Linked DNA regions of Homo sapiens: all the other regions are linked to region 1. The links are contacts of gene promoters, found by promoter capture Hi-C in human tissues and cell types (Jung and others, 2019). All regions are on one chromosome and are shown on one strand. Each heading gives the region's core, a stretch centred on a gene start or on the middle of the fragment in contact. The rest is flanking DNA. Distances are from core to core; before and after follow the strand shown.

The links. Contacts are between HindIII fragments. The study calls those that stand out against the background at their distance.
Region 2: a contact is called between a fragment that was not itself captured here and the fragment with the promoter of SPAG6 in region 1, in 1 of the 25 tissues and cell types used here (dorsolateral prefrontal cortex).
Region 3: a contact is called between the fragment with the promoter of PTF1A here and the fragment with the promoter of SPAG6 in region 1, in 1 of the 25 tissues and cell types used here (H1 embryonic stem cells).

The regions. Positions count from the first base shown.
Region 1 is chr10:22,344,031-22,347,091 of GRCh38, reverse strand. It overlaps SPAG6 (sperm associated antigen 6), which reads right to left and starts at 1,596. Exons shown (of 11, transcript NM_012443.4): 1 at 1,456-1,596; 2 at 1,274-1,369. The coding sequence starts at 1,480. RefSeq lists enhancers at 751-1,567, 1,528-1,747. The HindIII fragment of the contact is 4,842 bases long and covers 1-3,061 here.
Region 2 is chr10:21,469,232-21,472,292 of GRCh38, reverse strand. No RefSeq gene overlaps it. Among named protein-coding and RNA genes, the nearest start is that of MIR1915, 26 kb to the left of the region's middle. RefSeq lists a silencer at 572-766. The HindIII fragment of the contact is 3,112 bases long and covers 1-2,994 here.
Region 3 is chr10:23,190,853-23,193,913 of GRCh38, reverse strand. PTF1A (pancreas associated transcription factor 1a) reads right to left here and starts at 1,602. Exons shown (of 2, transcript NM_178161.3): 1 at 600-1,602; 2 at 1-210. The coding sequence starts at 1,383. The coding sequence ends at 8. The HindIII fragment of the contact is 16,553 bases long and covers 1-3,061 here.

The sequences.
Region 1 (3,061 bases), core at 347-2,846:
TGGTGGATACGCACGGAATAAAATTCTATAGGACAAAACACACACACACACGAACAATTAAAAGGAGGAAACCTATATAAGATCAACGAATTTTTATCAATGTCAATGTCCTCCTTGTGATATTGCACTACAGTTTTGAAAAATGTTACCATTGGGGAAACTGAGAAAAGGGTACACGGGATCTCTCTGTATTATCCCTTACAGTTGTGAATCTACAATTATTTCAAACTAAAATGCGTTTAGAAGATTATAAAATATACTTTATTGTAAATACATGCCCCCCAATAAAAACACACAAGGAATAAATGCCAAAAATCCTAGTGACAAAACGAAGTATCACATAGGTGCAGTAGTAATTCCCCTCAAAGAAACCCAGAGTAATCATTACACTTAAGTATTCTTGCTGTCAACATGTTAATTGTTTAAATTATGTGTTAGTTTTAAAGATCACATCCTATAAACTGAAGATTTCTCATGACACAGTAGTGATAAAATGCTACCTTACAGTTCAGATGGTGGTAGAATCATCCAAAAAAAAAGAAGAAGAAAGAAGAAAGAAGAAAAGAAGAAGAAGAAGAGGAAGAAGAAGAAGAAAGAAGAAGAAGAAGAAGAAGAAGAAGAAGAAGAAGAAGAAGAAGAAGAAGAAGAAGAAGAAGAAGAACCATTTTCTCTTATCAGTTTATGTTATGAGATAAGAAGATCTCTCTCCCTCCCTCTCCCCCTCTCTCCCCCTCTCACATCTGCAAGAGTCCGGACTGAGGAGTAGAAGGAACGCGCCATAAGGATTTCGCAAAGTCTGGTCTCTACCTACTTGGAATTTCTTGGAAAAGATTCAAGCATATCATTCCCCTTTCACTAAAGCAAGACGAGAAATCACGTCTAAACCACTGGAATTGCTTTGCTGTGAGGAAGTCGAAGGTGATCAAAGGCAGGGTGGCATGCAAAATGGCACTTGGATAAAATGGGTCTCATTAGGGTAGAGTCCCATTCACGTAAAATGACTCCAGGCAATTCCTAGGGCCTCGACTTTCAACCTGACACTTGCCTGTGTGCAATGAAGATGGAAACAGGGACAACGCGCACCTCCCACAACCATCTGGAAGCTTCACCCTCTCGGCCTGACCCCCAAAGACCCGCTGAAAAGAATGGATGCTTTTGCGAACTCCGGTCCCCACACTGCGGCTCCCCAAGAGCTCCACGGGCAGGGCAGCGGGGCGGAGGCGTCGGGGACTCAGTGCGCGGGGGGCGACGGGGGTTCGGGCTCCGGGCTCACCCGCGTTCTGCAGCGTCTCGATGTTTTGGGGTCTAGTCGCCAGCTCCGCCACCATCTGCACGAACTGGGTCCTGGCCTTCTGGTATTGCTCGAACACTGCGGGAGAGAGAGTCGGTGGAGCCCACCGCACCCGGGTCTCCTCGGCGCCAGCTAGTTAGGGCACCTGCCCGCCTCGGCCCTACCTTGCAGCACCTGCCTCTGACTCATGGCGCCCCCGCCGCCGTCTGCCCTCCTCGAGCTCTGCGGGGAAGCCGCTCGGCCTGCGAGTCCACCAAGGGGGCGATCGTGGCGACGACTCGGCCTCCGACGGGAGCCGCTTCTCTGTGTACCCGCGTCTCCCGGGCAACCTACCGGAACCGGAACGCGGCCGTCTTGCTGCAACGGCCAGTCCCGGGCGTGACGTCACGGCCGCGGTGCCTGGGCGCACTGAGCGGGGCGGCGGCGCGAAGACGCCCGAGCTCGAGGACTCGGACTGCTGGGGCTCTCAGCGCGCCAGGCTCGCGGAGCCGCCGGGACATCGCGCGCCGTCGAGTATCCCTGCACTGCCCGGAGGTCGGAGCTCCTTACAAAGCGACCCCAGATTGCCGTGGTATCCTGACTGCGGCGCGGGTCGGGACCAAGCGCCGGGAGAGCCCCACGCGCCAAGGGAGCCTGGTTCGAGGGCAGCCAGACGAGTAAATTGCAGCCCTGGAGTTGTCTGAGCTTCGACGGTCCCGAGAAATCTCACACGTCACATTGTACAATCCGATCAACACATGAATGTCAATGCAACTTAAGTGTTGCATTGACATTTAACACTGCACTGACAGTAAAACACTGATTTAGGAATCCGTGTTTTCTTTTGTAACCCGCTGTTATATACCTGGCATTCCTGGTTTCAAGATTCCTGGAGGAGCATGACAACCATGTTCACACACTTAATTACACTGTATTGAAAGCATTTAATGAGCACTCAGAGACTCAGTGAGGAAAGCAGATGAGGAAAGGATGTGATGAATGTCCTGTCTTCCCTGGCTTTCTCCTAATGACTACTAATTTTGCTGTTTCCTCACTTTTATGTGATTTGTAAATATTTTGTCTTAGTCTTTTAAATTTAGGCTTCGTTATGTTGATGAATGACATCTCCAACAGAAAAAGAGAGAGAACCTTTACCTGGAAAACCAGACTTCCCTATCTTATATAACTTGAACCCTTTACCCAGTTTCTTTTAACAAAATTGAAGTACTTAGTCTATTACTGGTTTCTAGCTTGTCTTTGAAAACTATATACCAGTTGTTTCAATGACAGTTGTCAACTTTAAATGTTCCTCCATCAAAAACTACAATTTCACCAGATGTCAAGTGGATACATAGCCGCAGCTGCTGCTAAGTAGTGCCAAGACAGGAAACCCCTTGATATTTCTTCAACAGAAGGGAGCATGCAAACTTAACTGGTTCTATATTTGGAATGAGTCCTCTATATTTATCTTTGAGATCTCACCCTTCACTGAGCTCTTGATGAAGTCCTGATACTTTGTGGAGCTCCAAATAGTTGGGGAATGGTCCAGCAATCAGAGAGAAGAATAAGTGTGTTTAGTCGGGTCCCTAATACCCCCGAAGGGCAGGTACATGTCTTCTGCTTCTGCAGCTCAAAAGCCAGTGATGGCCACAATCTTTTTACTTAATTCAAAGTCGTAAGTTTTACAGTGATATCTATATTTCCCTATGGGAATATGTCCTTTAAAATTAAAGTTATGCGTTCCCATTTAGAGACGTGGGAGGAAACAGATTGAGTAAATAATTAAGATTG
Region 2 (3,061 bases), core at 189-2,688, 870 kb after region 1:
CTGTTATATTAAAATTCATTGATTTATTTTGCCTTATAAATGGACCTTTTGCCCATACATAATTTTGTAACGTCATGCACTGGTCATGTGGAAAATATTGGTTCCCTGAATCATGCAGATCTTCCAAATATTGGCGCTTTTCATTACACAATATTAAAAGAATCACATTTGTTATTATCGCCATTGATCTCAGCAGAAAAGTTTTAAGTATTGGGAAGGTTTTAAGCTCACAGTGGCAGATTCAAGTTTTTGAAAATTCTAGCTTTTGCTTGAAAGCTCAAATTTTATTACTGGAAACCAACACTGTCAGCTGTATTCCTTAAAGTGATAGGTTCACTTCATTTAATGTTGAGACAATGTGCCAAACACTGAAGCCTAAATAATCATACATCTGTCAGTTGTTCTTGCAAGTAAAAATGGTGTTCCAGCTGAGTGTCGTGGTGCACACCTGTAATCCGAGCAATTTGGGAGGCTGAGGTGGGCAAATCACTTGAGCTCAGGAGTTCGAGGCCAGCCTGGGCAACTTGGTGAAACGCTGTCTCTACAAAAAAAGTAAAAATTATCTGGGTGTGGTGGCATGTGCCTATAGTCTCAGCTATTTGGGAGGATGAGATGGGAGGATTGCTTGAGCCTGGGAGGTCAAGGCTGCAGTGAGCTCTGATAGTGTCACTGCACTCCAGCCTGGGGGCCAGAGTGAGACCCTCTCTTAAGAAAAAAAAAAAAAAAAGAGGGAAGGGTCAGAGGGTGGGATGCTTTGAAAATGAGCTTTTGTAGGTAGAAAAAAGCTTCTCAGGCTGGGCACAGTGGCTCAAGCCTGTAATCCCAGCACTTCGGGAGGCTGAGGCAGGCAGATCATGATGTTAGGAGTTCAAGACCAGCCTGGCCAACATAGTGAAACCTTGTCTCTACTAAAAATACAAAAAATGAGCTGGGCGTGGTGGTGGGCACCTGTAATCCCAGCTACTCAGGAGGCTGGGGTAGGAGAATTGTTTGAACCCAGGAGGCAGAGGTTGCGGTGAGCCGAGATGGCACCACTACACTCCAGCCCGGGCAACAGTGTGAGACTCTGTCTTAAAAAAACAAAAAAGAAAGAAAAAAAGAAAAAAGCTTCCCAGGGCCAGGTGAGGTGGCTCATGCCTGTGATCCCAGCACTCTGGGAGGCTGACGCGGGTGGATCACTGGAGGTCAGGAGTTTGAGACCAGCCCGGCCAACATGGTGAAACCCAGTCTCTATTAAAAATACAAAAATTAGCCAGGCTTGTTGTGGGCACCTGTAATCCCAGCTACTCGGGAGGCTGAGGCAGGACAATTGCTTGAATTTAGGGTTCAGATGTTGCAGTGAGCTGAGATCGTGCTAACTGTACTCCAGCCTGGGTGACAGAGTGAGACGCCATCTCAAAATATATGTGTATATATATGTATATATAAAGAAAGAAGGCTGGGCACAGTGGCTCATGCCTGTAATTCCAGCACTTTGGGAGGCCTAGTCGAGCAGACCTAGACCAGGAGTTCGAGACCAGCCAGACCAACATGGTGAAACCCCATCTCTACTAAAAATACAAAAAAAAAAAAAAATTAGCCAGGTGTGGTGGCACGCACTTGAAATCCCAGCTACTCAGGAGGTGGAGGCAGGAAAATATCTTGAATCCAGGAGATGGAGGTTACAGTGAGCCGAGATTGCGCCACTGTACTCCAGCCTGGGCAACAGAGCAAGACTCCATCTTAAAAAAAATAAAAGGGAAAGAAAGAAAAGAAAGAAAAAAGCTTCACAAGATGATATGTGAGAGGGATTGAGAATTCAGCAGGTACAGGACATTGGAACAAGAGATGAGAAGAAAGTTGTTTTCTGTAGAATCCCCAGATACATAAAATTGGAGGGGATCCTAGGTGTCCTGTCATATATGAGATGGTATTTGGATCATCTGAATTCAAATATCATGGTATAGAATTGTATTAGGCCATTCTTGCATTGCTGTAAAGAAATACCTGCCGGGCACAGTGGCTTACGCCTGTAATCCCAGCACTTTGGGAGGCTGAGGCGGGTGGATCACTTGAAGTCCACATGAGCCTGGCCAACATGGTGAAACCTCGTCTGTACTAAAAATACAAAAATTAGCCAGGTGTGGTGGTGGGTGCTTGTAATCCCACCTACTAGGGAGGCTGAGGCAGGAGAATTGCTTGAACCCAGGCGGCAGAGGTTGCAGTGAGCCGAGATCGAGCCACTGCACTCCAGCCTGCGTGACAGAGTGAGATACTGTCTAAAAAAAAAAAAAAAGAAAGAAAGAAATAAGAAATACCTGAGACTGGGTAATACATATAAAAAAGAGGTTTCATTGGTTCATGACGCTACAGGTTGTACAGGAAGCATAGTGGCACCTGTGTCTGGGGAGGCCTTGGGAAGTTTCGAATCATGGTGGAAGGTGAAGGGGGAGCACGTGTCTCACATGGTGAAAGCAGGAGTGAGACGGAGAGTTGAGGAGAGGTGTCACACACTTTTAAATGACCAGAACTTGTGTGAACTCACTTACTATTGTGAGGGGAGCACCAAGGAGATGGTGCTAACCATTCATGAGAAATCCACCCCCATGGTCCAATCACCTCCCACCAGGCCCCACCTCCAATACTGGCGATTACAGTTTGACATGAGGTTTAGGTGGGGACTAATATAGAAACTATATCAGAATGAACCCTGCAGGATGGAGGATTGGCATCCAGGTGGCTGACCTCTGGGTTCCATTTTGGGATCCTGTCTAAAGCAGTTTTGAACTCTGGTGCCATACCCAGCTGTACGTTGGCTTCAGTCATCCCTCTAGAGCTGAGCCAAGAGTGCATCTTTGCTAGGAATACTACACTTAACCAACCGTTGTTAACAAATTCACCTGTACAGGATATTTTGGTTCTTGAAGGAGACTTCAAAGTCAGATAAATTTTTTTTTTTTTTGAGATGGAGTCTTGCTGTCTCCCAGATTGGAGTGCAGTGGCATGATCTCGGCTCACTGCAACCTCTGCCTCCTGGATTCAAGCAATTCTCCTACCTCAGCCTCCCAGATAGCTGGGATTA
Region 3 (3,061 bases), core at 353-2,852, 850 kb before region 1:
GGACTTCTCAGGACACAAACTCAAATGGTGGTTCGTTTTCTATGTTGTTGAAGGAAGATTTGCTGTTGAGTTTTCTGGGGTCCTCTGGGGTCCAGACTTTGGCTGTTCGGATAATATTTTGTTCCTTGAGTTGTTTTTCATCAGTCCATGAGAGAGAGTGTCCTGCTAGGGGAGGGAGGCCATAATCAGGGTCGCTGGGGGAGGGGGACCCTGGACAGGTGAGAAGAGAAAACAGACTGTGAATATCCAACCACATTCCCATTGGTCCCATCAGGTCCTTTAGGACCCTTTCCTGGGTGCTCTCCGGTTATACTAGAACCACCCTCTTCCTCCACACTTCAAGTCCCCACCGTCCCCTCCCAGGAATCCGAGGAGCTGCAAGTCTGGCGGGGACGCGCGCCCTTGAGAGCCGCGGTCAACGTGGCAGAAAAATAAAAAAAAAAAAAAAAACGAGAAACGCGAGCTCGCATTCAAGTTTTTCCGTGCCCACCGACAATCCGTCGGTCCGACTGTCTGCTTGGCAGTCAGCTCCCCCAGCCCCTCCGGAGCCTTCGAGTGCCCGACCCCTTCTCCCTGAGCTGGGAAGCGGAAGCACTTACGGGTGCCCCGATGGCAGATGATGACCTTCTGGGCCTGGCTGCCCGGGCTGTCCCCGCCCAGGCGCCCGCCGCCGCCCGGCCCCCCGCAGCCGCCCGCGCCACCGCCGCGCAAGGGCAGGTCGGCCTGCACGAGCTCGCTGAGGAAGTTGATGTAGCCGATGGCCAGGCGCAGCGTGTCCACCTTGGAGAGGCGCTTCTCGTAGGGCAGCGTGGGGATGTGCGAGCGCAGCCCCTCGAAGGCGTCGTTGATGGACTGCATGCGCCGCCGCTCGCGCACGTTGGCCGCCTGCCGCAGCTGCTGCAGCTCCGCCTCGGAGCGCACCCGCCGCCGGCGCCGCGCCGCCGCAGCCGCCGCTCCGCTCAGGCCGCGCAGCCGCGCCCCGGGAGACAGTACTGCCGCCCCGGCGCACGGGTAGGCCAGGCACGAGGGCGGCGAGCCGGGCGAGTAGGGGAAGCCGCCTGGGGGCGCCCCCGTCTCGCAGCAGTAGCCGCCGCCGCCGCCGTCGTCTGGCTCACCGAGGCCCCCCGAGGACGGCGGGGCGAGCGCTAGCGGGGCGGCCGGGGGCGCGGGCTGCAGCAGCAGGCACGCCCCGTCGCGGTAGCAGTACTCGTGGAGCTGGTGGCTAAGGAACTCCACCTCGGCCTGCTCGTCCGCCAGCAGCTCATCGCCGTCCTCCAGGGGGTCCCGTGAAGACTGGTCGGTGAAGAAGTCGTCCTCGTCGAAGTACGAAGAAGGAAAGGCGTCTAGGCCCCCGGGGAAGTGCTCCAGCAACACCGCGTCCATGCTCGCCGCCGCAGTGGGCAGCGGGACTGCCGGGCTGCGCGTGTTAGTTCTTGGTGAGTTTCTAAGGCCCGTCCGAGCCCCTCCCTCCCGGGGCCCTGGCTGGGGGCAGCTAGGCGGCCGCCGGGCTGCCCGCCCCCGGGCCTCCCTGGAGTGCCCGCGGCCGCTGCGCTCTGGCCCGCGCTCGCGCTGCGCTGGGGAGGGCTGTGGCGGACTTCCTGGAGCTGAGGGCCGGCACGCGAGGATTCTTATAACAACATCCATAGGCGCGTGCCAGGGACCCATCGCGCCAGCCAATCAGAGCGCGGTGTGCCGGCGGCGAGGGGGCCCGGAGGCGCGGCGGTGGGCGGGGGTGGGGGGCGTTTTGCTCCCTTTGGGAGCTCCTGGGGCGAGGAAAAGGCGGGGTCGCGCGGCCCGGGGCTCCTCGCACCGCTCTCTTCCCTCTCCTCTGCCTCTGCATACTGGATTCTGTACCTGCCCCGCGTGCGGCTCCAGGGGCACCTGCGTCCCGCGGTGCCCGCTGCGTACCCGCGCGCGCTGAGCAGCGCCGGCTCCTTCCGCCCTGGGACTGGGGCAGCCGCGCGCCGCGTCTACACGCGGCCAGAGAAGTTCCTAGGGGTGCGCGCCGGTGGCCCAGACGGCGAGAGCGGAGCCCGCGCGGCGATCGTCCTCCTCCGCGGCAGCCTGGGCAATCTAAGGGTGCTGCCCTCAGGGACCAGGTGGGTGCATTCCGCCACCCCCTTATCCGAGGTGCGCGGGGCTCCGGCCTGGGTTCTGCTGGGGGCTTCTGTCCCATCTCTGGACTTTTCAAGGGCTTTTGCACAGTTTGCAGAGTATATGCGGGTGTCATTGGAAGGTGATCCGGGCCCACTCCCACTGCGTTCCAGACGCAACACGGGGGCTGGGAGCGCACCTATGGGACTCCGCTCTGGAGCCTGGCTGTGGTGCCTGGTGCGGGTCCCCAGCGACATCGGCTCAGTGGCTGCCTCCCCTGCCCTCCCCGGCCCGGAGAAAGGAATGGGGAGACGGGAGGGGCAGCCCCCAGAGCAGCTCAGCGGGGCGCGTTTCTTCTGAGAGCAAATCTAGACCCTAGGGATTCTGAGCAATAAACTGGATACAAAAGGAGTCCATTGAATCGTCTGCTCCGGCGCAGTCCGGAGGGAAGGCATTGAAGTTAAAGGGCAGAATGTGAATCGTTTTCAAAGCCCGAGTCTCTCACCTTTCCGACTGGCCACAGGGACCATCCCTGAATGACTTGTTTTTTTCTTTCTCGACCTTTCTTTTCTGAAAAAAAAAAAAAACACAAAACGTATGCAGCTCTGCCCCAAGACAGACTTTATCACAGACTGCGATGCAACGTGAATTCCTCTTTTTAAGAGCAACAAAGAAACACTTTCAAGGTCTGGGCAATTCCGGTTAAAAGCCAGGCTGCAGCTTCCACCCCGGGAGAGTTCAGAAGCGCAGCCATCGTGCGTATTCTCTCTACAGAGGACTGAAAGGAGTCGTCCTCCTGGGCCGCTTCCTTTTTCAGGCACTTGTCTCACTAGAGGCTTCTGTTGGGTATTCAGACGCCTCTCAAATTCCAAGTCATGCCTCTTCAGATTAGTGATTTAAATACGCTTCTTGGTTTTAGACATTGCACTGTAATTAACTGAATTGAGAACAAAGAGTTAAACCAAAA